Regions from separate parts of the Homo sapiens genome. Here regions 1, 2, 4, 5, 6 and 7 are each linked to region 3. The links are contacts of gene promoters, found by promoter capture Hi-C in blood cells and fetal thymus (Javierre and others, 2016). All regions are on one chromosome and are shown on one strand. Each heading gives the region's core, a stretch centred on a gene start or on the middle of the fragment in contact. The rest is flanking DNA. Distances are from core to core; before and after follow the strand shown.

Evidence for each region. Contacts are between HindIII fragments. The CHiCAGO score rates a contact against its expected background, and 5 or more counts as called.
Region 1: a contact is called between a fragment that was not itself captured here and the fragment with the promoter of CCNQ in region 3, in 5 of 17 cell types (neutrophils, activated CD4 T cells, erythroblasts and 2 more). The highest score is 10.5, in neutrophils.
Region 2: a contact is called between a fragment that was not itself captured here and the fragment with the promoter of CCNQ in region 3, in 1 of 17 cell types (neutrophils). The highest score is 7.2, in neutrophils.
Region 4: the fragment with the promoter of RPL10 here is called in contact with the fragment with the promoter of CCNQ in region 3 in 7 of 17 cell types (fetal thymus, non-activated CD4 T cells, naive B cells and 4 more); the score reaches 12.0 in fetal thymus.
Region 5: the fragment with the promoter of G6PD here is called in contact with the fragment with the promoter of CCNQ in region 3 in 1 of 17 cell types (non-activated CD4 T cells); the score reaches 6.5 in non-activated CD4 T cells.
Region 6: a contact is called between a fragment that was not itself captured here and the fragment with the promoter of CCNQ in region 3, in 16 of 17 cell types (activated CD4 T cells, total CD4 T cells, naive CD8 T cells and 13 more). The highest score is 19.4, in activated CD4 T cells.
Region 7: a contact is called between the fragment with the promoter of LAGE3 here and the fragment with the promoter of CCNQ in region 3, in 4 of 17 cell types (total B cells, non-activated CD4 T cells, neutrophils and 1 more). The highest score is 9.6, in total B cells.

What each region holds. Positions count from the first base shown.
Region 1 is chrX:152,924,866-152,928,448 of GRCh38, reverse strand. All of the region lies in intron 12 of ZNF185 (zinc finger protein 185 with LIM domain), which reads right to left. LOC124905237 (a long non-coding RNA gene) reads left to right here and starts at 1,291. Exons shown (of 2, transcript XR_007068368.1): 1 at 1,291-1,530; 2 at 1,750-3,100. The HindIII fragment of the contact is 1,619 bases long and covers 784-2,402 here.
Region 2 is chrX:152,825,114-152,828,419 of GRCh38, reverse strand. CETN2 (centrin 2) reads left to right here. Exons shown (of 5, transcript NM_004344.3): 5 at 490-1,426. The coding sequence ends at 579. Among named protein-coding and RNA genes, the nearest start is that of CETN2, 4.0 kb to the left of the region's middle. The HindIII fragment of the contact is 1,450 bases long and covers 838-2,287 here.
Region 3 is chrX:153,597,521-153,600,863 of GRCh38, reverse strand. It overlaps CCNQ (cyclin Q), which reads left to right and starts at 1,725. Exons shown (of 5, transcript NM_152274.5): 1 at 1,725-1,902. The coding sequence starts at 1,791. LOC105373383 (a long non-coding RNA gene) reads right to left here and starts at 1,524. Exons shown (of 1, transcript NR_131982.1): 1 at 971-1,524. RefSeq lists an enhancer at 1-214 and silencers at 1,355-1,494, 1,595-1,644, 1,655-2,014. The HindIII fragment of the contact is 8,000 bases long and covers 1-3,013 here.
Region 4 is chrX:154,396,709-154,400,227 of GRCh38, reverse strand. It overlaps RPL10 (ribosomal protein L10), which reads right to left and starts at 1,851. Exons shown (of 7, transcript NM_006013.5): 1 at 1,834-1,851; 2 at 1,686-1,731; 3 at 832-890; 4 at 634-741; 5 at 287-425. The coding sequence starts at 1,708. LOC124905228 (a long non-coding RNA gene) reads left to right here and starts at 1,386. Exons shown (of 2, transcript XR_007068356.1): 1 at 1,386-2,643. RefSeq lists enhancers at 1-306, 307-850, 851-1,396, 1,719-1,928, 1,941-2,486 and silencers at 2,489-2,558, 2,629-2,808. The HindIII fragment of the contact is 9,726 bases long and covers 1-2,911 here.
Region 5 is chrX:154,544,820-154,548,095 of GRCh38, reverse strand. G6PD (glucose-6-phosphate dehydrogenase) reads left to right here and starts at 1,250. Exons shown (of 13, transcript NM_001360016.2): 1 at 1,250-1,307; 2 at 1,933-2,060. The coding sequence starts at 1,941. It overlaps IKBKG (inhibitor of nuclear factor kappa B kinase regulatory subunit gamma), which reads right to left and starts at 476. Exons shown (of 10, transcript NM_001099857.5): 1 at 351-476. RefSeq lists enhancers at 89-368, 1,671-2,214 and a silencer at 809-1,368. The HindIII fragment of the contact is 7,888 bases long and covers 1-3,276 here.
Region 6 is chrX:152,961,484-152,964,853 of GRCh38, reverse strand. It overlaps ZNF185 (zinc finger protein 185 with LIM domain), which reads right to left. Exons shown (of 25, transcript NM_001395254.1): 20 at 905-1,015. Among named protein-coding and RNA genes, the nearest start is that of PNMA5, 31 kb to the left of the region's middle. The HindIII fragment of the contact is 1,707 bases long and covers 1,122-2,828 here.
Region 7 is chrX:154,477,021-154,480,697 of GRCh38, reverse strand. LAGE3 (L antigen family member 3) reads left to right here and starts at 1,417. Exons shown (of 3, transcript NM_006014.5): 1 at 1,417-1,970; 2 at 2,287-2,415; 3 at 2,640-2,923. The coding sequence starts at 1,783. The coding sequence ends at 2,754. It overlaps PLXNA3 (plexin A3), which reads right to left. Exons shown (of 33, transcript NM_017514.5): 33 at 2,919-3,677. RefSeq lists an enhancer at 1,043-1,542 and a silencer at 1,804-2,023. The HindIII fragment of the contact is 14,076 bases long and covers 1-3,677 here.

The sequences.
Region 1 (3,583 bases), core at 344-2,843, 670 kb after region 3:
CCTTGAGCCTTGTTGGTGCTGCAGCTGAGCTCGGGCCACTGACCTGTAGGCCCCTTCCCCGGTCTCCCACCCCTGACCTGAGCCCAGCCCTCCCTCAGGCACAGCAAGGGCCCTTCTGGGTAGAAATGAAACCTCCCAACCCGTGCTTCTACCAACCATTTGCAGGGGCAACCGCAGCCTGTGACCCCACCAGGGTATCCAAAGTGGCCATTTGTGAGGCCAGGGGTAGTTCTGCATTCATGGACTGGTGGGGACTGAGGGGTACGAGAGACTGAGAAAACCCACAGACCAAATATGGAATGAAAACCAGTGGGAGGGGATGTCGCAGACTCGGGGATGAGGACAAAGGGCCCCTTTGAGCTTTCCTCTTGCCAGCCACGCTCAGAGCCCTCCCCCAGATGACCACAGGCCACCCCGGACACACATCCCTCCAAGTCTGATGCATTCTCTGGCCGTACTGCAAGGCATGACGCCCAGCAGGCTTGGCCATGGTGTGGCCAGGGCCAGAGAGAATATAGAGCTCCCAGGCTTTCTGGGGGTGGACCCTTCACCCCAAACCAGACCTCCTTAGGTCCATGGAGCAAAGCCTAATTCCAAGCCACATTGCAGTCACTCCTGCCTTTGTCCCTGGGCCCTGGAAGTGCAGACAAGCCTGAGCCCCAGGCCTGCCCTGGTGAAGCTCTGGGCCCAGCAGGGTCAGGCAGGGGCAGAGAGGCATGGAAACTGACCTTGCTGTGCTGCAGGGCCCAGAACAGGTTTAGCCATGGGAGCAGTGGACAAGCTTCATGGAGGCATAGCCCGACCCAGGCCAGCTGAAGGGAGATCGGGGGAGGAGGAGGAGGTAGAGGCTGGCAGGGGTCCTGAATGTACAGACTAGATCTGGTATGGCAAAGGGAAGATGCAGGATGGGCTTGAAGTGGAGGTGGGGGGTTTATAGGTTCAGACTGGCACTTTAAAGAGGCCACTCAGGGGTCCCAGGAGGGGTAGGGGATGGAGTGGCCAAGGTGAAAGCAAGGAATGAGCCATGGAGGGCTGGGTCAGCGGGCTGCTCATCTCTGTCCCTCCACTTCCACCCTGGCCAGGGCCTGGAGTGCTCAAAGTGACCAGAGGGAAATGGAAGGGCTACCAAGGACAAGGCCTCTCCCATCATGAAAGCCAGGAGGGGCCCTAGACACACAGACAGCTCTGACTTCTCCCCATCTCCTCTCGTGATAACGACGATGACATCGTTGTTGAGGATGATGTCATTTATGATGACAGTATAAAACCCCTGGCTGCCTCATTTAAATCAGGTGGTGCCAGGGAACAGGGATGTCACAGGCAAGCACAACATATTTTCTCACTGGCGTTTCTGGCTCTGTCACAGAGGAAATGGGAACAAAGTGTCACCCCAGCCTGCTCCAGTGACTGATGTCAGACTAGGGCAATGTGGGCAGACACAGAGGGAAGACGGCTGCGCGAAGACAGAGGCCGAGATGGGAGTGAGGCGGGCGCAAGCCAGGAAACACCAAGGATTGCAGGCAACAAAAGGTAAGAGAAAGGTATGGAACAGATTTTCCCCCAGAGCCTTTGGAGGGAGCATGGCCCTTCCGACACCTTGATCTCAGACTTCCAGCCTCCAGAATTGTGAGAGGATAAATGCGTGTGGTTTTAAGCCACTCAGTTTCTGGTACCTTGTTACAGCAGCTCCAGTAAACTAATACAAGGGTCTCTCCTCCCCCACAACCCGCTACCCCACCATCTCCCCAGACTCTCAACCACAGACAGCTCCAGTCCAAGCTGAAGTCCAGGACCACGCTGGAAGGCTGCACACCCTTGGAAGGCACCCAAGGAAGAGAGGCAGGCATCTGCTGAAGCCTGAAGCCCAAAACTGATCACAGCCACCTGTGGGAATGCGACCAACTGTGGCCTGTGCCAAACAGTGTGTGACTCATTCTGCCAAAGAGCGAGGAGGCGGGGATGTGGGGCGAGGGGATACCTCCTTTTCACTGCCTTTGGCCACATTTCCCTCAAATGCCAGCAGGTGGAGATATTGATCTCTTCCTGTATTTGAATAAGGGCCCTGCAGCTCAGCACGCCTATGACTGGGAGCCCCCGAGGATACCAGCACCCAGGCACTGTGGTAAGTACTTCAGGTGCACGATCTCATTTAGCATTTGGGACAGCCTTGGGAAGTAGCTATTACTGCTCTCCCTATTTTATCCACGGGGAAACTGATGCATGGAGAGATGAAGAGACTTGCTCAAGGTCACACAGTCAGTCTGATGCAAAGCCAGGGTTTTGTCCTGTGCCAGAAGCTGTGCTCCTACTCCCTGCTCCCCAGACGCTCTGCCAGGCAGCATGCTGGGCAGAGCCTAGGACCGGGACCCAGGAGGCCATGCCCTGGTCAGGTGAGGCAAGCTTGACCAGTGCTTCGGGTAAAGCAGCCAGGCCTGGGGGCCGAGAAGGGGTGCATGTGTAGAACCAGTTTCTCCAAGAGAGGGTCCCTAAACTGGGTTCAGGTTGCAAGGGGGGCAAGAGTTATGAGGAGCTGACCTTTGCACTGTAGCTAAGGGAAACAGGGCAGGGCAGGGGGTGGGGAGAGGGTAGCCTCGATAGGTCTGTGCCTGGGGACAAGGCTGTGACATTCTCCTCTTCCACTCTGCCACAAACCAGCCTTTTCTGAAGTGCTGCAGGACCCTGAGTTTGATTGAGTCATTGTTCCTCACGGGCTGGGCTTCTCAGACACCAGGCAGATAGGAGCTGGGCCTGGGAGTACTGATGGTGGCTGCTTGGTCCAGTGCAGCACCTAACGTGGTAGGGTCAGAGAAGACGGCCCTCCAGGGTCAGGATCAGCCAGCAGCTTTCCTGGAAGCTGCCTGGGTGAGCTCCAAATATTGAGTGACCAGAATTGGAGGAAAGAACTATCAGAAGCATCAAGCTGAGCCTCCTGTTGGGAGCTTGCCCCGGACCCTGAATCTCTAGCCTTTATTTGTTATGGCAACCTGAGCAAACTTAAAAAGCCACCTTGCAATGACAACCATATGATGGGGATTAAACATCGAAAGGAATTTTGTGGAATAAATGTCAAAGTGCCTTTTAAATCTATAATACAGCACAATCTAATTCTCCTCCATTCTTTCTCTCTTTTTTTTCTTGTTTTAGAGACAGGGTCTTGCTCTGTCACCCAGGCTAGAGTGTAAGGGTGCGGTCACAGCTCATTGCAGCCTCAAACTCCTGGGCTCAGGCAGTCCTCCCACCTCAGCCTCCCAAGTAGCTGGGACTACAGGTGTACATCAATGCTCCCAACTAATTTTTAATTTTTATTTTTTATTTTTTTGTAGAGATGGGGTCTTGCTATGTTACCTAGGTTGGTCTCAAACTCCTGGCTTCAAGCCATCCTCCTGCCTTGGCCTCCCAAAGTGCTGGGATTACGGGCATGAGCCACCATGCCCAGCCTCCTATATTATCTTCTAAAAGGCACCTGAGGCCAAGCGCGGTGGCTCACGCCTGTAATCCCAGCACTTTGGGAGCCTGAGGTGGGCAGATCACAAGGTCAGCAGTTTGAGACCAGCCTGGCCAATATGGTGAAACCCGTCTCTAC
Region 2 (3,306 bases), core at 313-2,812, 770 kb after region 3:
CTCTGCAGACAACTTAATTCTCCTTTAATAGTCAGACAAACCTATGAACCCTGCTTCCAGAAAAATGCACATATGCACAATTTTGCTTACTATTTTAGGTTCCAGGAATCCCTCTAGTCAAGGCAATCTTCAAGGTCCCTCCCAGGTGATATGTTTGACAAAGTATGAGTTGGTTTTCAAATAACTTTTCAGAAACCAAGCTATTATCAGGAGTAGCATACTGGCATTGGGTGGACTACAATGATCTATTCACATAGATACAAATTATCTATTCACATAGATTAAAAGTCTATTGCTTGCCAGGCACAGTGGATCATGCATATAATCCCAGTACTTTGGGAGGCTGAGGCAGGAGGATCTCTTGTGGCCAGGAATTTGAGACCAGTGTGGGCAGCATAGAGACCCCATCTCTAAAAAAAAAAAAGTCTATTACTTAGTCACCTTTTGGCATTAGTTTATAAATTAACCTGAATCTTTACTGTCATATAGGAAATGATTGATGAAGCTGATCGAGATGGAGATGGAGAGGTCAGTGAGCAAGAGTTCCTGCGCATCATGAAAAAGACCAGCCTCTATTAAGATCAGTGTCTTCTTTTTCTACTGCAAGCACATGTAACTAGATTTAGTGCCTGCCATGGTGTGAAATCTGGCTTTTGAGAACACAAACTTTTCCCCCACGGACCTCCCTTTATCACTTTAATAGTGACCTTGAGCCTATTTTAGCCGTTTGGAAGTGTTCTTTGATATTACAGTTCTTTGTAAAATGACCTGCGAATTACCCTAATTCTCAAAAGCAAAACAAGAGCACACAAGCGTGAAGAAAAGGATCTTAAAGCTTTGAGCACCTGCCATTTTGCCTTGCATCGTTTCCCTCGTCATGCATTTCCACATATCCACAAACACAGAACGACTTTAGACAAGCACATGTTACACCTGTGTTGCCACAAGCAGTCATTCTTGACGGCTCCAGTTTTTATTTGACACTTGAGTTTAGTTTTCTCTTTTATAAACCCAGTGAACTCCTGCACTGGCATTTGGATGTGTGTTAATGCTATTTGTTTTGTCTTAAAAGTAAAACCTTTCTCAGTTTGAACTTGTATTCTCTAAGGATGAGTTCTTTAGCTTTGCTTATGAGTTCCTCTTCTCAATTATTGTGTTGAAGGCAGCCTATTAGATACAAAACTCCTTACCAGCCTATGGACAGAAAATGAATAATCCTTTGCTACTTTCCTGGCATGAATTGCTTTTTGCCTTGGAAGGCTGCTGGTTTGTAAAACTAGCAGAATTTTTATATCACCTAAGCCTAAATGATGCTCTAAAAATAGTTTTGGCAAAGCTAAGACTGGAAAAGAGTCTTGTTAGTAATTTGTGCTTGAATAAAATGGGGAGAGCCAGGCTAACGCAACACTAGGATGGATTCAGCCAACCTCTCGTGAATTTATTTGCTTATGGTATCTCATCGACTCTTGGAGGTGGGTTGGGCTGAGTGACCCCATCCAACCATCTTCCTGGCCTTGCCCGGGATTCCCTGTGTGAGAAATCCTGGTAGATGACATTAAAGTCTCTGCTCCAGGGTGAGAGTGGGGAGGCAGAAGGGGTGAGGGAGAATAGAAAATGAACAATGATGGAATGCTCGTTTGTTCACATGGAGAGGGAGAAAACAGATTTTCAAACTTCTGGGGGTAGGCTAGTCCTCTGGGGATAGGGTTGCCTGATTCAGCTAATAAAAAGAAAGTTGAGGTAAATTTGCATTTCAGATCAATGATGCCTTTTTTTTAGTATGACTATATCCCATTTGTATTTTTTGTTTATTCATTGTTGATCTTAAATGCAAATTTACCTAAGCATCCTGTATTGCCACTGGTAACCCTACCCGGGGAGCACGTTACAGAGGCCAGAAGCCTGGCCCTCGGTCTCATGCCTCTGGACCCTGACATCCTGTAGGACTTGGGGGCCCAGGAATATGAAGTTTACCATATCCCCCAGATGAGTCTCATGCCGAGGGACTGCTCCTTAAGAAAAACTTGGGGGAAGAGCCCAGACTAGCCCAAACCCTGGATTCTCACACACACCCACTTCCTCATCGGGCAATTTGGGGCAAGCTACTTCTCTAGGTGCCTGGAGTTTGATGTCTGTGTGATGGGGAGAAGAGTTGTGCCTACTCAGAATCACTGGAGGTGAAATACAAACTTACAGAGAGGACCTGGCTTGAAGGTATTCAAGAACAAGAGGATTCAGAAGTGTTCAGTCTTACTCCCATTCTTTTGCTACAGTTATCACATAAGCTTTGTTGTTAAATGTGGGTCCATGAAGCTTTTATCATTACTGTCCCCAAAGTGTGTTGATAGCATTTCCTAGGAGGATTTGACCTTTGTTGTATTGTGATTTTCTAATAAGAGGCATATGATTGGATAAAAGACATAATATTGGAAAGGAGTGAAAAGACTGGGCCCTGCCTCCAATTTTACTGTTAACTGTAACCCTGGAAACACTCTTTTGAAAAAAAGTTAATTAAACGAGATCATGTCCTTTGCAGGGACATGGATGGAGCTGGAAGCCATTATCCTCAGCAAACTAACCCAGGAACAGGAAACCAAACACCACTTGTTCTCACTCGTGAGTGGGAGCTGAACAGAGAGAACACGTAGTTACAGGGAAGGGGACAATATACATAGGGGCCTGTCGGTGGCAGTGGGGGTGGGGGTGTGGGGGGAGGGAGAACATCAGGATAAATAGCTAATGCATGTGGGGCTTAACACCTAGGTGATGGGTTGATAGGTGCAGCAAACCACCGTGGCACACGTTTACCTATGCAACCAGCACGTCCTGCACATGTATCCCGGAACTTAACTTAAAAAAAAAAAAACAGTTTCAGGGATAAGGAAAAAAAAGTTAATTAAAAAGAAGTTTTGAAATTGACAACATTGTATATATTTATGGTGTACAATATGATGTTTTGAAAGATGTATACATTGTTGAATGGCTAAATTAAGCTAATGGACTATCCTGGAGACATTCTTATCTCCTCCTGCTTAATATTCCCATAAATGAAATCTCTCAGGAATCTCTTGAGACAGGACGGAGAGTGGCAAGTAATAGGTTATCCCTGAGGATAAAAGCAAACATAAGGTCTTTGCCTGGCAGCCATTCTAACATAGGTGTGCAGTTATTCAGTGGAAGGATGGGGACAGAGAGGGAGCATGAGTCAGTGGGGCTGGACCGGAGAGCTGTAAAGGGATCAGGAAGATGGGGACGGAGAGGGAGCATGAGTCAGTGGGGCTGGACCAGAGAGCTGTAAAGGGATCA
Region 3 (3,343 bases), core at 476-2,975:
CTCTGCCATGAGGCAAAGTGGTGAGATCCGAGGCTGGTCAGTTGATAGGGTGACTCCACAAGGACCAGCATGTGAGGTCAAGGCCTCACATTTTCTCCTGAAGGTGAAGGGACTCCGGAGGGTGTTAGGCAGGGCAGGACCTGTTCAGCCTCGCCTTTTAGAAAGCTCGCTCTGGCGGCTGGTATTGTGGGGTGAATGCCAGCCCCCAAAAGGTGTGTCCGTGTCCTAATCCCTGTTACTGTGACCTTATTTAGCAGAAGGGCCTTTGCAAGATGTAATGAAAATAAGGATGTCAAGATGAGCTCCTCCTGGATTATCTAGGTAGGCCCTAATCCAGTGACAGGTGTGCTTATAAGAGACAGACGAGAAGACAGGGAGAAGGCCATGTAGAGACGGAGGCACAGATTGGAGTGATGGGGCCACAAGCCCAGGAAGAACTCAGGCTGCAGAAGCTGGAAGAGCAAGGAAGAACTGATCCTCTGCCAGAGCCTTTGAGGGAGCAAAGCCCTAGTGTCACCTCCATTTCAGGTGTCTGGCCTCCAGAATTGAGAGAGGATATACTTCTGCTGTTTTTAGCAACCCAATTTGTGGTCATTTGTTACAGCAGCCCCAGGAAACTAACCCAGCTGGGATGGAGAGAGGACTTGGGGAGGCTGGTGGAGGCAGGAAGTGCTGAGGAAGGAGAATGAGGCCGGACTGGGTGTGTGGGGTGGGGGTAAGAGGTGGAGACTTCCACACCATCAGGAGATCAAGGCGCCTGGGCAGAAGGGTTTAGGGAGCAGTAGCTTTTTCCTCTCCATATTGCCAGCTGTCTGAAATTGTAGCAATGATCTGAATGTATCAGAATGACTCCAGTGACTGTCACTAACTTGGGAGTGAGTACCTTTGGGGTTCTATGTCCCTAAAGCCTGATGCACCATTTCCTGCTTGTGGAAGACGCGAATGAAAAATGAGATGGTAAATACCTGAGTTCGATATTCAGCATTCATTCAGCAAACATTTATTAGGCTCCTACTGTGCGTCGCGCTGGAAAGGCAAGCAGAAGCTAGATTCCCAATCGATCCCGGGAGGCTGGACGATCCAGACACAAACACCGTTCATGCGTCTATTCGAAAAGGCCCTCTTGGAATTTTGTGCACAGCATTTCCTTGGGGTGTCGATGGATCGGGGTCTGCAAACATTAGCACCTTTTCCGGTGGCCGCTGTCTTCTCAGACCTCAGACACCGGCGCCTCCCCGTGAACTCCCGCAGGCGTCCCTAGCCCAGGGCTTGGCGGGCGCTGCCGGTTGTACCTGGCCTAAGCCACGCTGGGCCGACAGCCCGGGGCGACACCCCCTTCGGACGGCGGGGATTTGCGGCTCGGGTGACCGGAGGTGCCCTCCCGCGGGTCTCGGAGCAGCTCCGCGGGCTCTCGCTCCGCGGGGAGGAGCCTGCGTCTCCCAGGGGCGGGGCTCGAGGCGCCTAGGGGCCGGTGGACACATACCAGCCGCCCCGTGGTGTCGGCCTCTGCGCCTGCGCCTGCGCCTGCGCGCGCGGCCAGGCAGCGTCTGTGGCGCAAGCGCGCGCTCACCCTTGGGCGAGGGCCCTGAGGGGCGGGGCGGGGCGGAGGAGCGGCGGGGCGGCGAGGGGCGGGGCGGGGCGGCGAGGGGCGGGGCGGGGCGGCGAGGGGCGGGGCGGGGCGGGGCCGGACGCGGCCGGGTGGGGCGGCAGCGCCCGCCGCGAGCACCTCCAGTTCTGCCGGCTTCTGCGCGCCGGGGCCGCCTCTCCTTCCGCCGGTGCCGCGGCGCCTCATGGAAGCCCCGGAGGGCGGCGGAGGGGGGCCTGCAGCGCGGGGCCCGGAGGGGCAGCCGGCGCCCGAAGCCAGGGTGCACTTCCGAGTGGCGAGGTTCATCATGGAGGCAGGTAACCGCGGCCGGGGGAGGCCAGGACAGGCGGCGCCGCGGCCCGCTTCGCGGAGCGGGCCCGGCTGGCCAGGCCGGCCTTCTGGAGTGCTCACCGTAGCAGAGGCCGGGAAGCCCTGCTCGGGGCTGAGGACCTCCGCCTTTGCGCCGCGCCCGGTGTGCTGAGCAGTGAGCCGCGAGGTATCCCCATGGCGTGGACCGGTGTGCAGGCCCTAGGAGAGGACGTGGCCGGGTTGGGCCTCCAGCGAGGCGGAGACCGGCCCGGGCGCCCGCAGCTCTGCGCAGTGCGCCACGCCTTCTGCCGGCACCCGCGGCCCTGCACTCCGGTAGACTTTATGGCGCTTAGTCGCGCGGAGCCTTTTGGAGAACGCTGTCCGAGGGTTCCTGTCACTCCGGGGACCTAGGCTGCTTGCAGCTCCTGTTCCGAACCCTGCCAGGACATCCACAGTAGTGTTGGGCTCCGCGCTTCCCAGGCGAGGTGATTAAGCTAAGATCTCTGTAGAAACATCGTTTCCATCCAGCCATCAACAGTATTTTTTTTTTTTTCGAGACGGAGTCTCGCTCTGTTGGCCAGGCTGGAGTGCAGTGGCGTGATCTCGGCTCACTGCAACCTCCGTCTCCCGGACTAAAGCAATTATCCTTCCTCACGCTTCCGAGTAGCTGGAATTACAGGTGTGTGCCACCGTACCCGGCTAATGTTTGTATTTTTAGTAGAGACGGGGTTTCACCATGTTGGCCAGGCTGGTCTTGAACTCCTGGCCTCAGGTGATCCAGTTGCCTCGCCCTCCCAAAGTGCTGGGATTACAGGCGTGAGCTACCTCGTCCGGCCCATCAACAGTATCTTGATAGGAGATACTGTTAGTTGGCGGGTAGTTATTTCCTACCTTTACTGCTTGGGGGAGAAGGGTTGGGCAGATGTGCTTTCTACCCAAGGTGGGCGGAGAGTCTGAGGACTGCTGCAGGACTGTTCATCCCAGTGATATGTAAATTTACTGTAATTTGCAAGAAGAGTTGCAAAGTTATTATTAGGGAAGGATGGCAGTGACACCTCATCTGCTACCGTCTGCTCGGAGGGTCCGTGTAAATTGGGGTTTGCTCTGTAAAACAAAGCTTGGAAGGTCATGTCAGTAACAGCACCTTATCTGGCATCTCCTGGAATGAGGGGTCCCAGGTAGGAATTGTCTTTATATAACAAGTTTAGACCTTCTGAGGGACTTCTTTATAAAATGTATTACACAATCCTTTGTCCTTTGTAGGAGGCTAAATATTGATTTCCCAAAGATGTCCCTATCCTAATCCCTGGAACCTGTGAATGTCATCTTATATAGCAAAAGAGATTTTGAAGATGTGATTAGAGACCTTAAGATGGGAGATCATCCTAGATTATCTGGGTGTAACCACACCCATCCTTATAAGGCAAAGGCAGGAGGAGTCACCGTCAG
Region 4 (3,519 bases), core at 602-3,101, 800 kb before region 3:
CTACCTGCTGGCAAGATGGTTGTCATTCAGCTAAAAGCAAGAAGAGCTACTCCCATCACCAGTGTTTCCCCTAACCTGTGGGGAAGAGCTTGCTAAGACTTACTCATGCTTTGTTTGTATCTGCAGGAAGGGGTCCTGAGTGACCACTGAAAGTCACTTGCCAGCCTGGCTTTTCTAGTAGCCATAGTGGCTGAGTCACTGGGGCCACCTCTATGCTCTGATAAAATAATGCAAGCCTAATAATGTAGAGACTCCAACTGCCTTAAAAGGCCCAGACCAAGCTCACCTGTCAGCCCCAGCACAGGACAACATCTTGTTGATGCGGATGACGTGGAAGGGGTGGAGCCGCACCCGGATATGGAAGCCATCTTTGCCACAACTTTTTACCATGTACTTATTGGCACAAATTCGGGCAGCCTCCAGGGCTAGGTAGGGAGAAGAAAAGCAGCAAAGTGAGAGAAGATAATAGAGAAACATTCACCACGACTATCTCCAGCTCAGGGGAACTGTGTTGGCTGAGTTTTGTAAGGCTCATGTTTCATCAACTCCCAATTCCAGTGCAGTGTATGTGGGTGGGGTTGAGGGAGCACGGAGGAAGGACTGGGGGGTGACGAACAAAGAATCCTGCCTTACCTTCAGAGGACAGCTGCTCATATTCATCTGACACCATGTGGCCACAAAGCGGAAACTCATCCACTTTTGCCTTTTTCCGCCCCAGGTCAAAAATGCGAATCTTGGCATCTAAAAGGATTGGGTAAGTGTGCAGGGGGTGTCACAGACGGACGCGGAGTCCGCAGAGCCAACCAGTGCAGGGGCTCTTCCACTACTTACCAGGGACACCTCGGCAGAAGCGAGACTTTGGGTACGGCTTGTTCTTACAATACCGGTAACTGCAGGGGAGTGAAAAAACACAGGTTAGGTGAGGTTCACAGAAAGCCCAACAGGCACTTTGCCCCTCAAGGAACAACCCAAACGAGGGACGGGAAAAGGGTGGGGAATGCACGTCCACTTCTAAACCGTTTCCATTCGGGGAAATAAACTACAAAGCAACAGTTGGCTGCTGCAACACAGACAACACCCAAGACTAGAAACAACAGACACCATCTTCCGTTACTTTGTCTTACGCTTCCTATAAACACTTTGCAACAAACTTTCCTAGTTAAAAATTCTCTCTTCAAGACACTGCGTACTACAAAATCGCCGCATTATCATTGCACAGCTCAGGTCACCCAATTTAAGACTTTCGGGCACGTGGCACTAAATCCACCTCCAAGCCGAGTGGAAATGCGTCTGGCGCCCCCTGTAGGACACAGGAGGCGGCCGCACCCGTTTTTCCCGGACTGCCCTTCACGTCCGACAACGCACGCGGCACGTCGCCCGGAAATAAGACAGAGAACGCACACAAAGGCCCCAAGAGCGTATCTAGCGCCCGAAAATGCGGTGAGCTTGCAGGACACAGGCAGAGATACGAGGGAACCGTCGCTTCCACACCGACACGGGAACGAAGGAACAGACAGTAATATTGCAGACTAAAAAATAGCCGGGAGGTGTAAAACATAGGGTCAGTTCCCAAGACAGGGCCGCCGCACGGGGGAGGCTCCACCCCACAATTGTTTTCAGCGGCCATAGGCACTTCTTTCCCCGCCCGTTTCCCAGCAGTGAAAGTACACGGATTCAAGACTCACCAACGGGCGGGGCGGCGGCCCATGGCGACACCAGGATCTTCAGTGGCTGCAACGAAAAAGAGAGAGTCGGAACGGAAGACGAGAACAGACCTAAAAGGTGTGAGAACCAGCAACGGCACCGCAAGAGACGACAACTGCGCTTACTCACCACACCGAAGGGAAAGAGGCGCTCCTCCGCCTGCGCATGGCTTATATAGGCGGTCTGTCTGCGCGCGTAAGAACCATAGAGTCCTGTCGAAGACGGGTGGACGCTCTGTCAGACGTCATGACCATAGACGCAGCCGCTCTTGGCGCTTGCGCCCGGGCGTAGCCCAGCACATGCGCAGATCAGAGAGGTGACCGGGTACCAGGGCCGCGGGCGGCCAGCTGACGAATGGGGCTTCGCCACATGGTCGCGAGAAGCCCGCTTCCGGCTGGCCATCTTGGGCGTAGAACTCTTGCCCTAGGCTTTGCCGTTAACTGTGACAGACGTATATTTCTGAGAGTGGAAAAAAGGAAAGTACCCTAGGTGGGCCTCCCGGCGACCGCGAGAGTGTCCCTGAGCTTGCACGGGTCTCGGACACGCGCTCCGTGCCTCCTTCTAGGCTAGAGGCCCCGGCGGTGAAGCGCCATACGGGGATCTGGGCCCGCGTTCCTTTGTCAACCCGGGAGGCCGGAGGGGGAGACCCATTCCCCTACCGGAGAGGCTGGACCAGGCCTTGCTGGGAGCCATGCCCCGTATCCCCGTTTCCTGGAGACCCAGGGTTCGCACATTGCCGCGGGGAAGAGGTCGAGGAGAAATCTCCACGGAGACTCATGGCCTGGGAAACCCCGGGGCATCTCTAGCCCCGCTCCGCCCACCCTGACCCGCACCGTCCCGACCAGCTGCGTCTCGGGCGCCGCCTCCCATGAGCCGCTCTCGCCTGGGCACCGCCCCACCTCGCCCTTCCCACTCCACTGTGCTCAAGAGTCCCTCCGGGTGCGTCTGGGGGTCGTGGGGAAGCAGGGCCGCCCCCACCCGCCCACGGGGCAGCATCCGGGGAGAGGTGCGCAGAGCAGGCGGGCGTCCTGGGGGAAGTGGCATCTGGAGGTATCTGTCCACCATTCTGCAGGTGGGGCGCGGTGGGGTAACAAAGTCTTCCCGTCCTTTGACAGGAAGGACGGGAGGAAATCCTGCTCGAGCGCACCTGTTTTCCAGGATGATATGTCGCTTTTATAAATGGCTGCAGGTCCCTTTGAGAAAAGCTTGGGACGATTTCTGGGGTGCACTTGCAGCAGTGGTGCAAGGTCCTTCCCAGGGGAACCTAGCCTCCCTTTCCATCATGGGACTCTGGATGCCGGCGGTGACTTAGGTCTGGAAACTGGGTTCGAGGCTGTAACACCACTGGGGCAGTACAAGTCAGGAATTGCGGCGGAGTGCCGTGGCTCACGCCTGTGATCTCAGCACTTTGAGGGGCGGAGGTGGGCGGATCACTTGAGCCCAGGAATTTGAGACCTGGACAACATGGCGAAAAACCGCCTCTACAAAAATTAAAAACTAAAAATTGGCTGGGCGCAGTGGCTCACGCCTGTAATTCCAGCACTTTGGGAGGCCGAGGCGGGCGGATCATGAGGTCAGCAGATCGAGACCAGCCTGGCCAACATGGTGAAACCCCGTCTCTACTAAAAATACAAAAATTAGCTGGGCATGCTGGCTGGTGCCTGTAATCCCAGCTGCTTCGGAGGCTGAGGCAGGAGAATCGCTTGAACCCGGGAGGCGGAGGTTGCAGTGAGCCGAGACCACGCCATTGCACTCCAGCCTGGGTGACAGAGCGAGACTCCGTCTCAGAAAAAAAAAAAAAAAAAAAAAAATATA
Region 5 (3,276 bases), core at 1-2,500, 950 kb before region 3:
AGATACCTAGCTGCCAAACTATATGTGAGGCATTTCCGAAGAATTTAACGACCTCGATAGAGCGCAGTCAAGTTTGGTGAACAGAATATGTCTCTGAACTAGAGGAGTCCTCACACAAGGAGTAGGGTCAGACCCCGCAGTGGAGGAGGAGGGAGGAGTAGAAACAGTCCAGCTCGCCGCCCAAGTAACCTGGGTCCTGAATCGGCCCGCCTTGGCCAGTGCTCCAGAAGCGCGGAGCAGGAACGGGCTGGGGCCCAAAAAAGAGGGGGGAGCCTGAACGTCCGGGGGAAGTTTCGGAGGCGGCGGAACGCCCACGGATGGAACCCTGTCTTTGGGGAAAAGGACCACACCTGTCAGCAGAGTCCGTCAGACGTGAGAAGGGTGGGAGCGGCGGACTGTGAACGCTGGTAGGGCCCCGGCGCTCCGAGAAAGTCCCAGTTTCGCGGTCGCCCTTCCCTACCACGCTTCCGGCTTCCGGTGTCATAGCTGTGGGATCCGGAAGTAAAAACACAAGCCCCGCCCCCGAGAACTCGGGAAGCCGGCGAGAAGTGTGAGGCCGCGGTAGGGCCGCATCCCGCTCCGGAGAGAAGTCTGAGTCCGCCAGGCTCTGCAGGCCCGCGGAAGCTCGGTAATGATAAGCACGCCGGCCACTTTGCAGGGCGTCACCGCCTACACGCCCCCTCGTCTCTCGGACGGCGGCGTCTAGCCTCGGGGCGCTCGGCCGCCCCGCCCTCTCCGGGGGAGGAATCAAGAAGAGACTGCCCAATAGGGCCGGCTTGACCCGCGAACAGGCGAGGGTTCCCGGGGGAGTGGCGCGGCAGAAGGCCCCGCCCAGGAGCCGAGGGACAGCCCAGAGGAGGCGTGGCCACGCTGCCGGCGGAAGTGGAGCCCTCCGCGAGCGCGCGAGGCCGCCGGGGCAGGCGGGGAAACCGGACAGTAGGGGCGGGGCCGGGCCGGCGATGGGGATGCGGGAGCACTACGCGGAGCTGCACCCGTGCCCGCCGGAATTGGGGATGCAGAGCAGCGGCAGCGGGTATGGCAGGCAGCCGGCGGGCCGGCCTCCAGCGCAGGTGCCCGAGAGGCAGGGGCTGGCCTGGGATGCGCGCGCACCTGCCCTCGCCCCGCCCCGCCCGCACGAGGGGTGGTGGCCGAGGCCCCGCCCCGCACGCCTCGCCTGAGGCGGGTCCGCTCAGCCCAGGCGCCCGCCCCCGCCCCCGCCGATTAAATGGGCCGGCGGGGCTCAGCCCCCGGAAACGGTCGTACACTTCGGGGCTGCGAGCGCGGAGGGCGACGACGACGAAGCGCAGGTAACCGGCCGGGCGGGCGCCGCGCAGGCGGAGGAGCGTACTGTCCCGCGCTGCGCCGCGCGGCGGTAAAATACACGCTGTTTGTTGTGCTTGAGAACCGAGCAGAATCGAGAGGGTCTTAACCAATCCCTTTATACCCCGCACCTCCTCTCTTGAGCCCCTGAGACCCCGAGAGCGAAGGGGACTTGCCGACCGGGGTCACCCAGCTTGGCAAGGGGAGGGCTGGAGCTGAACTCCAGCATCTGCACCATCTCCCATGCTCCAGGTCATTGTGGAGTTCCCGCTACAGTCGGGAATGAGATGGTCCTGGGCACGCAGTTCCATGCCCCACAAGGATTTTACTCGGTTGTCCAGAATTGATGCTGTAGTCGGAATACACCAATGCTTTGAGTAATTTTGTAATGTACACCCTGAATGAAGGCTGCCTAGGAGAGAGTGGCTGGAGCCCAGAGCCAGCAGTTTCTAACCCATCAACCACTCCCCAATGCCCAGCCGTTCACAAGGAGTGATTTGGGCAATCAGGTGTCACCCTGGTGTGAGACCCCAGAGGAACTCTCAAGAAAGGGGCTAACTTCTCAATGCTCTCCTGTTCTTCTGCCTTGTTAACGAGCCTTTCTTCCACCAGACAGCGTCATGGCAGAGCAGGTGGCCCTGAGCCGGACCCAGGTGTGCGGGATCCTGCGGGAAGAGCTTTTCCAGGGCGATGCCTTCCATCAGTCGGATACACACATATTCATCATCATGGGTGCATCGGTGAGTATCTCCCAGGCCCCAATCTTAAAAGCCAGGAAGTGCCTGCTCCATGCCTCAGCTTTTCCAACTAATTGTTGCAGGGCCCCACAGGCTCTGCTAAGTTGAGCTCCTCCTCCCGCTCCTGCTAGTGCGCCAGGATCATCCCGGCTCTACCTGGTGTGCATATGCACTTGCAAGACTTTTTTTTTTTTTTTTTTTTGGAGACGGAGTTTTGCTCTGGTCGCCCAGGATGGGGTGCAGTGGCGCCATCTTGGCTCACTGCAACCTCGGCCTCCTGGGTTCAAGCGATTCTCCTGCCTCAGCCCCCCAAGTAGCTGAGATTACAGGCATGCACCACCACACCCGGCTAATTTTTGTATTGTTAGTAGAGACGGAGTTTCACCATGTTGACCAGGCTGGTCTCAAACTCCTGACCTCAAGTGATCCGCCCGCCTCGGCCTCCCAAAGTGCTGGGATGACAGGCATGAGCCACCACGCCCGGCTGCAGGACGTTTCTGAACCCTGTGCCTAGCCGCTGAATGTAGCCCTTAATCCTGGAGTTGCAGGCTCTTTAGGGACTGTCTAGATGGACTTCTTGGGGAAAACAGGGAATGCTATTCATTCTGTAGTTTTTTCAGACCTGTTCATGCCTTAACAAATGAGTTCCAAAGGCAGGATCTGAGGCCTGATCTCTGCCTCTTCACTAACACTTCAAGTTCCGTCGATACAAACACTTAGCTTTTCTTTGAACACTGTCTCTTTGCCTCAATTTCGAAAGCCTACCAAGGAGCTCTGCCTCACCCCACCTGGCCCCAATTGTCCAGCTTGTAGAACCGCCATTCTGCACTCATAGGAAAGACAAAAGAATAGTATAGCATGAGGATTTCCATGGGAGGGGAGGGAGGGGTGGTCCTAGGACAGCCATCGCCCGAGACTAGAGCACCCTCCCCTGTGTCCCATGGGGCAGTGAGACTGTGCAGGGGCTGGTGGAACAAGGGCTTCATCTCAAATTACACGTGGTCTCAGTTTTCACTTTTAACCCTGGATGCACTCAAGAATCTCTCTGCTCATTACTGTATGACCATCTTTGCCATTAACTTACCTTGTAACCTTGAGCAGGAGCTCTATCAAAACTAGTTAGTTCTTCCACATCGTGCGCCCCTCAGTGCTGGCTGAGCTCAGTGGTTCTTTGTTCACATAGAACAACGCGCTGTCACACTTTGTCAAACCTACTCCT
Region 6 (3,370 bases), core at 726-3,225, 640 kb after region 3:
ATTTTCCCCCATTTCCATGCTGCACACTCCAGCCTGCTGACCTGATGTCTGCAGAGGCCCCCTTGGATATGCCCCCCTCCCGCCCCCAACACACACACCTCACTGAGCAGCCTTCCTGCAGTGACATCCCTTCCTGCACCCTGACAGGTGGCCAGGAATGCAGGTGAAGCAGTGGGCATGTGACAGAGACAGACAAACCTCATGTTGAAATGTGATTCCCAGTGTTGGAGGTGGGGCTTGGAGGGAGGTGACGGGATCATGGGGGGATCCCTCATGAACAGCTAGCACCATCCCCTTAGTGAAAAGTGAGTTCTCATTCAGTTAGTTCACACAAGATCTGGTTGTTTCAAAGTCCGGGCCCTCCCCTTCCTCACTCTTGTTCCTGCTCGTGCCATGTGATGGTCCTGCTCCCACTTCGGCTTCCACCATGATTATAAGCTTCCCGAGGCCTTTGCCAGAAGCCAAGCAGCTGCTGGTGCCATGCTTGTGCAGCCTGCCAAACTGTGAGCCAATTAAACCTCTTTCCTTTATAAATGTCCCAGCCTCAGGTATTCCTTTACAGTAACACAGGAATGCCCTCACAGGCCCGGCCTTCACGGACTGGAGCTGGCTTCCCAGGCATGGACCCATGAATGGCAGAGCCACATCCACTAGTGCACTAGGAAGTACCACTGCAGCCTCTTACAGAGATAGGAAAAAGGAGGTGTGGGAATGTCTAGGCCCGGTAGATGGGAGTTTATATTAGGGGACTAACACTGTCCTGTGTGGCCCCTTGGCTAATGGCCTGCTAGAAACTGGGGAAGGCACTAAATGGGAAGCAACATGGAACAAAAGCCAAGTCCTTTACCGCCAAGGAGGAAGTGGCGGAGGAACATCTCCCAGGTTGCTAGATAGCCCTTCTTACGTGGTAGAGCTGGAGTCCAATTCACTTGCGGGGGCTGGAATATAAATGTGAGGCTGCTCAGATGTGGCAGTGACAGTAACAGTGACCATGCAGCTCGAGGGGCTCCTCACCCTGAAAGAAATAAAGGGAGGGGTGGGCACGTCAACCTGGGAGCTGACACCTTCCAGGGTCAAACAGGCTTTTCTGAGCCTAACCCTTGAGCACTGCTCTTGAAGCTTCCTCCAAGACCAACAAATGGAACTTCTCACTTTACAGATAAGCAAACCCAGGCTAGGTGAGTTGAGACATGTCCCAGGTCACATCGTGAGTCAGTAGCAAGACCCCAATCTTCCAGTGTCCACTCAGTACTCCTGACTGCAGCCAAGGGCCTTGGCCTCTGTGATTCACTCAGTTAGAGTGGAATCATGGGGCTCCCGGGGATGTGACAGTCAGGAGGGTGCAGAAGGGGAAGACACAGCCCAGCTCACCTCCTCACTGGATGGGACGGTCCCTTACTAGGATCAGCTCCTTCTGCCACCCTGCAGGGAACTCTCTAGAGAACACAAGGCCAAGGGGCAGAGGACCAAATGAAATTAGGCATCATTGAGGAGGAAAGTCAGATGCACCTCATTCCCAGCAGAGGCGGGAAACTGACCGGTGTCGAAGTTTTTCTGAACCTCCACACTTCAGCTGCCAGATATGGCCCTTGGCCTGGAATCCAACCTCCTCGGCAGCCCAAAAGGGCTTTTCTCTGGCCAAGCCAATATCGGCTCTCACTCTGCCTGCCCCCAGGCTATGAGCCTCATTACCAAAGCTGCCGTAGCTGTCAACTGCAGTTCAGGGCACGATGTTGGGCAGCACCACTGACCACTTGTTTGCACCTTCCAACTTAAGTCTGCTCACCCTCCAAAGGCCTGAGGCCAGCACTATGGGTGCACACTGCCCTGGGCTGATTCTGGCTTTTCTCCAACATGCTGTGGCTCAGATCATACTCCAGATATGGCTGCCTCCATCTGGCCCAGGCTACTGGGTATTGTCCCCTTGCCAGAGAATCCAATGCCTAAGATTACAACTAGTTGAAGAGTGGGGAAAGGGAAGAACAATCATGGTCTAGCATCTGCCTAGCTCTCTCGCCTCATAGTCTCAAACTGTATCACGTGCCACTCAAGCCGTACAGACCAGCCTGCAGTTCCCCTGGACTTCCAGGCTCTCATATGCCTTTGCAGACAATATCACCTCCTCTGGGAAGCCCTTCCTGAGGGCCTGCCCTCCTACCTCACCTCAGTGTACCCAATCATCCTGTACCTGTTCCTGCTTCACCCTATGACAAAGAAATATACCATAGAGACTGGAGAAGGTGGACTGGATGGGAGAGGAGGCCCCACAAAAATCTGAAAAGATACACGGGGGATAAAATGCAGAGCCAACAAGTGAGAAAAGGATTGATTCTAAGAGGAAGGAAGGAAGACCTCCTACTGACTGAACAACTACCAGGTGTCTGGTATCCTGTGATCCATGTCAGCAGAATACTGAAGGGGACGGCGCAACTGAAGAGGCAAGGTAAAACAGAAATTCCCTGGAGCTACTTGGGAAGCTGAGGCAGGAAGATCACTTGAGGCCAGGAATTCAAAAACAACCTGGGTAACACAGTGAAACACCGCCTCTTAAAAAAAAGAAAAAATGCCCTGGGCATCCCCCCAGGACTGCAATGTGAGCAATAGGAGCCCTCCCAATAGCCTCCTCTCCCTCACCTACAAGACCCTACAGGGCCCAGCTCCTGCCCCCTGCTCACCTCACCCCGTACCCTCCAAGCACAGGGCTCATTGTTCAGGCCCTCCTCCCTATCTTCTTTGTCCACAATGCCTCTCCCCAGGTTCTTTGGAAGGCAGGCTCCTCCAGATGTTTCAGGTCTCAGCCGAACTGTCTCCTCCTCGATAGAAAAGCTTTCCCTAACCATCCTTGCTCTAACCCCTCTCCATCAGAGCACCTGGTTTCTTTCCTTCCTGGGCTTATCACAAATGGAGGGGCAGTATGGATGCCACAGCGATGAACAGTACAGGCTCTGATCTCTGTCTGGATTCTAATCTCGGTTAGGCCACTTCCTGGCTGCAAAACTGCCAGCAAATTACTTAACCTCCATCTGCCTCAGTTTCTCCATAATAAAAGCACCTCCTTGAGTTGGTGTGAGAATTAAATGAGTGAGTCCACATAAGGCATGCAGAACAGTGCCTGCACATTCTCAGCACACAGCAGGTGCTAATGGTTATTACGATCATGCTTATTCCTTAGTGGACTATGTGCTCTTTGAGGGCGGCTGGATGGGGCCTTAGCCATCGTGTTCACTGTGTACATGGCTGCTCACAGGAGGCTCTTAGTATGCAGCATCTCTAGCCGGCGGCCCATGGCTCCTGGTTATTCCCAAACTCATGGCCACTTTGGGAAAAAAAAATCTCTGGGGAACAAAGGGAGCTCTCAAAAGACACGTGC
Region 7 (3,677 bases), core at 168-2,667, 880 kb before region 3:
TTTATTCATTTTTTATTTTTATTATTTTTCTTTTTGAGACAGTCTCCCTCTGTCGCCCAGGCTGGAGTGCAGTGGCGTGATGTCGGCTCACCACAACCTCCACCTCCCGGGTTCAAGTGATTCTTCTGTCCCAGCCTCCCGAATAGCTGGGACTACAGGCGCACACCACGACACGCAGCTAATTTTTGTTATTTTTAGTAGGGCCGGGGGTTTCACCATGTTGGCCAGGATGGTGTTGAACTCCTGACTTCAAGTGATCCACCCGCCTCGGCCTCCCAAAGTACTGGGATTATAGGCGTGAGCCACCGTGCCCGGACTGATGTCACTTTAAATACTTTTTTTTTTATTGTAAATGTCATAAAAGACCACTTCGGAAAAATTGGAGGGAAAACACAAAAAGGAAATTAAAGTCACCCACCATACTATTAGCAGAGATCATGAGGATTTACCTGACGCTGTATTGTTCTAGGATTTCTCTACATATGTACAGTAAGAGACTAAGTTGGCATTTTCTTTTATTTTTTGAGGCGGGGTCTGGCTCTATCAACCAGGCTGGAGTGCGGTGGGGCGATCACGGCTAACTGCAGCCTCTGCCTCCCGGGCTCAGGCTGTCCTCCCATCTCAGCCTCCCTAGTAGCTGGGACCACAGGTGTGCACCATCACACCCAGCTAATTTTTGTATTTTTTGTAGAGGCAGGGTTTCACTATGTTGCCCAGGCTGGTGTCGAACTCCCGGGCTCAAGCAATCAACCCTCCTCAGCCTCCAAGAAGCTATGACTACAGGCACGCTCCACCACTCCCAGCTAACTTTTAAAATTTATTTTTGTATTTTTTGTAGAGACGGGGTCTCACTATGTTGCCTGTGTTTGTCTTGAACTCCTGGGCTCAAGTGATCCTCCTCCCTTGGCCTTCCAAAGTGCTGGGATTCCAAGCGGGGGCCACTTTGCCTGGCCTAAACTGGCATTTTCATACTCATAGTTGTGCAGTCTGATTTTTCACGTTATATTAGACCTAGACCCACCGCCAGTACTTTCATTCAAGGCCCTGTCATTTTTCGCCTCCGTGCAGGCCTCCTGCTGACAGGCTCCCCCGCTCTGCACAGCCCACCCGCTCTAAAATGCTTCCTCTAAAATGCACATCCGATGCTTCACAGTCCATGGTGAAGCCCCGTTGGTTGGGCACTGGGGTTGAGGGCAAGAGCAGTATCCTTGGGGGTTACCCGACCCGGCCACCCTCCCTCTGCGAATCGCAACATGGACGTTGTGCCACATCTCCTGGGGCTCTTGGGTCCAGGTAAGAAACGGGGCGGGAAGCCGTCCAGGCACCGCAGGGCCTCACTGGGGCCTCCAGGGACAAGGGGGAAGGCCCCGCCAGCGCAGGCGCGCTAAGGTCACAAGGCGCGCTTAGGGGCGGAGCCTCGCGGGGTGCGCCTCTGGGATAGGCGACCACGGTGTCTTCAAAAGCCCCGTCAGGGTTGGCTTCCTGGGGCCGGACCGACTGTGGGTCAGTTTGCACCAGCGCTCTGGAATCGAGTTACGCGCGAAAGGGCAGAGTTTCTGGAGGAAACCGCAGCCTCTCAACCGCTGACCGGGTCTCAGAAGGCCCCCGGCAGGGCCGCTTGGCGGGAACTGACCACGCGCCAGTCAGGCTCTCCAGGGACCTGCGCAGGCGCGTGTGGGCGGAGTCGTGCGCAGGGGGCGGGGCTTCGGGAAGGAGCCACAGAGAGGGCGGGGCGTAGGACCTGCGCTTCGGGGGTGGAGTCGGAGCGGCGCGGCGGCGGTCATGCGGGACGCGGATGCAGACGCAGGCGGAGGCGCTGACGGCGGGGATGGCCGGGGTGGCCACAGCTGCCGCGGGGGCGTGGACACAGCCGCAGCTCCGGCCGGTGGAGCTCCCCCAGCGCACGCGCCAGGTCCGGGCAGAGACGCCGCGTCTGCGGCCAGGGGGTCACGAATGCGGCCGCACATATTGTATCCTTTCCGAGCTGGGGGCTGCTTGCGGCGGAGCGAGGGCTGGACTCGGGGAGAAGGAAAGGAGGGCGGGCGGGGGGCCGACGGAAAGGGTAGCAGGGGGGGACCGGGGCTGGCGTATACGGTCAGAGGTGGTCGGAGGAGGGGAAGACATTGAAATGGAGGGAGAAGCTCTGCTAACGGTGGCCTGGGCGAGGTAAGGAGTGAAGGGGGTGACACTAGGCAGGGTGACCTGAGAGGGGGCTTCAGAGGAGCAAGAAGGCCTGAGACATAGGCAAGATCGTATCAGATGGCACCTTAACCGAATGACCCCCAGCACCCTCAGCGTGCCTTTCCCGACCCCCTTGGAGGCGGAAATCGCCCATGGGTCCCTGGCACCAGATGCCGAGCCCCACCAAAGGGTGGTTGGGAAGGATCTCACAGTGAGTGGCAGGATCCTGGTCGTGTAAGTTCTGAAAGGGACGGGGTTGGGGGAGGCGGCCCATGGAGACATGGGGGACATCCAAGGATGAGCCCTAAGGAGCGCCAGGTGCGCTGGGCCGGTCTCTGCCTGAGGGGCTGTGTAATGGCAGGGCTCCCAAGGGTTTGCTATATTGGGTGCCTGAGGGGCAGAGCGAGGGACCAGGAGTTGCCACCTCCAATTTGATTTTCTTTTCCCCTCACTTTTAGCCGCTGGAAAGCTGAAGACTGTCGCCTGCTCCGAATTTCCGTCATCAACTTTCTTGACCAGCTTTCCCTGGTGGTGCGGACCATGCAGCGCTTTGGGCCCCCCGTTTCCCGCTAAGCCTGGCCTGGGCAAATGGAGCGAGGTCCCACTTTGCGTCTCCTTGTAGGCAGTGCGTCCATCCTTCCCTAGGGCAGGAATTCCCACAGTTGCTACTTTCCTGGGAGGGCCTCATGTTTTATCTGGTTCTTAAATGTTTGTTACTACAGAAAATAAAACTGCGCTACTATTCCAAGTCTGAGTTTATTTGCAGCTGGGGCACCTCCCAATATTCTTGTTGTGCTTGGGTTGCTGGGGGGGGGGTTCTAGAATTCAGATATTCAAGGAGTACAAGGAAATTGAAGACAATTTAGGAAATGGAAGAAAATGAAAATCAATTGGGTTCTGTCATTCAGGATTAACTACTGTCAACATTTTGGAATACTTCCTCAGTTTTACAGTTGCACTTACATAGTAAATGTGTAACTGTAATATACACCACATAATATTTGCAAGTTTAGTGTTAAATTTTTTTCCTGATTTTTAAATCTAACATGAGCTTTTTTCCTCTAACGATCAGTGAAGAAAGTGCTGGGGCAATTGACTAGTGTCTGGGGCAAGGAGTTGGCTCCCTGGAAAATACAGTGTCTCCAGCCTTAGGGCTCTTTTATAGATTCTATCAGATTTTCTGAGAGTGAAAAGGAAGAGGTACAACTGCTTTTATTCTCAGAAAACAAGGAAATGGTTTGATCCTTTTGAGTCTTGCTTTGAAGATGTGCTGTGTGGGACCAGAGCAGCTCTTAACTGTAGGCTTGTTTCCCTCTATGGAGGCAACAAACACCATTCTGGGCACCCTGGCCAGTGCTGCCTAGGTGAACATGAGCTTCTCTATCCTGGTGGGTGGGGACAGCTGCTAGTCCCTGTCCTGCTTGCACACTGGAGTTACCGTTCATCCTCTCCTGCTGGGGTGATGGCCTTCCCTGGTCTTGGGTAGCTTCCTCACA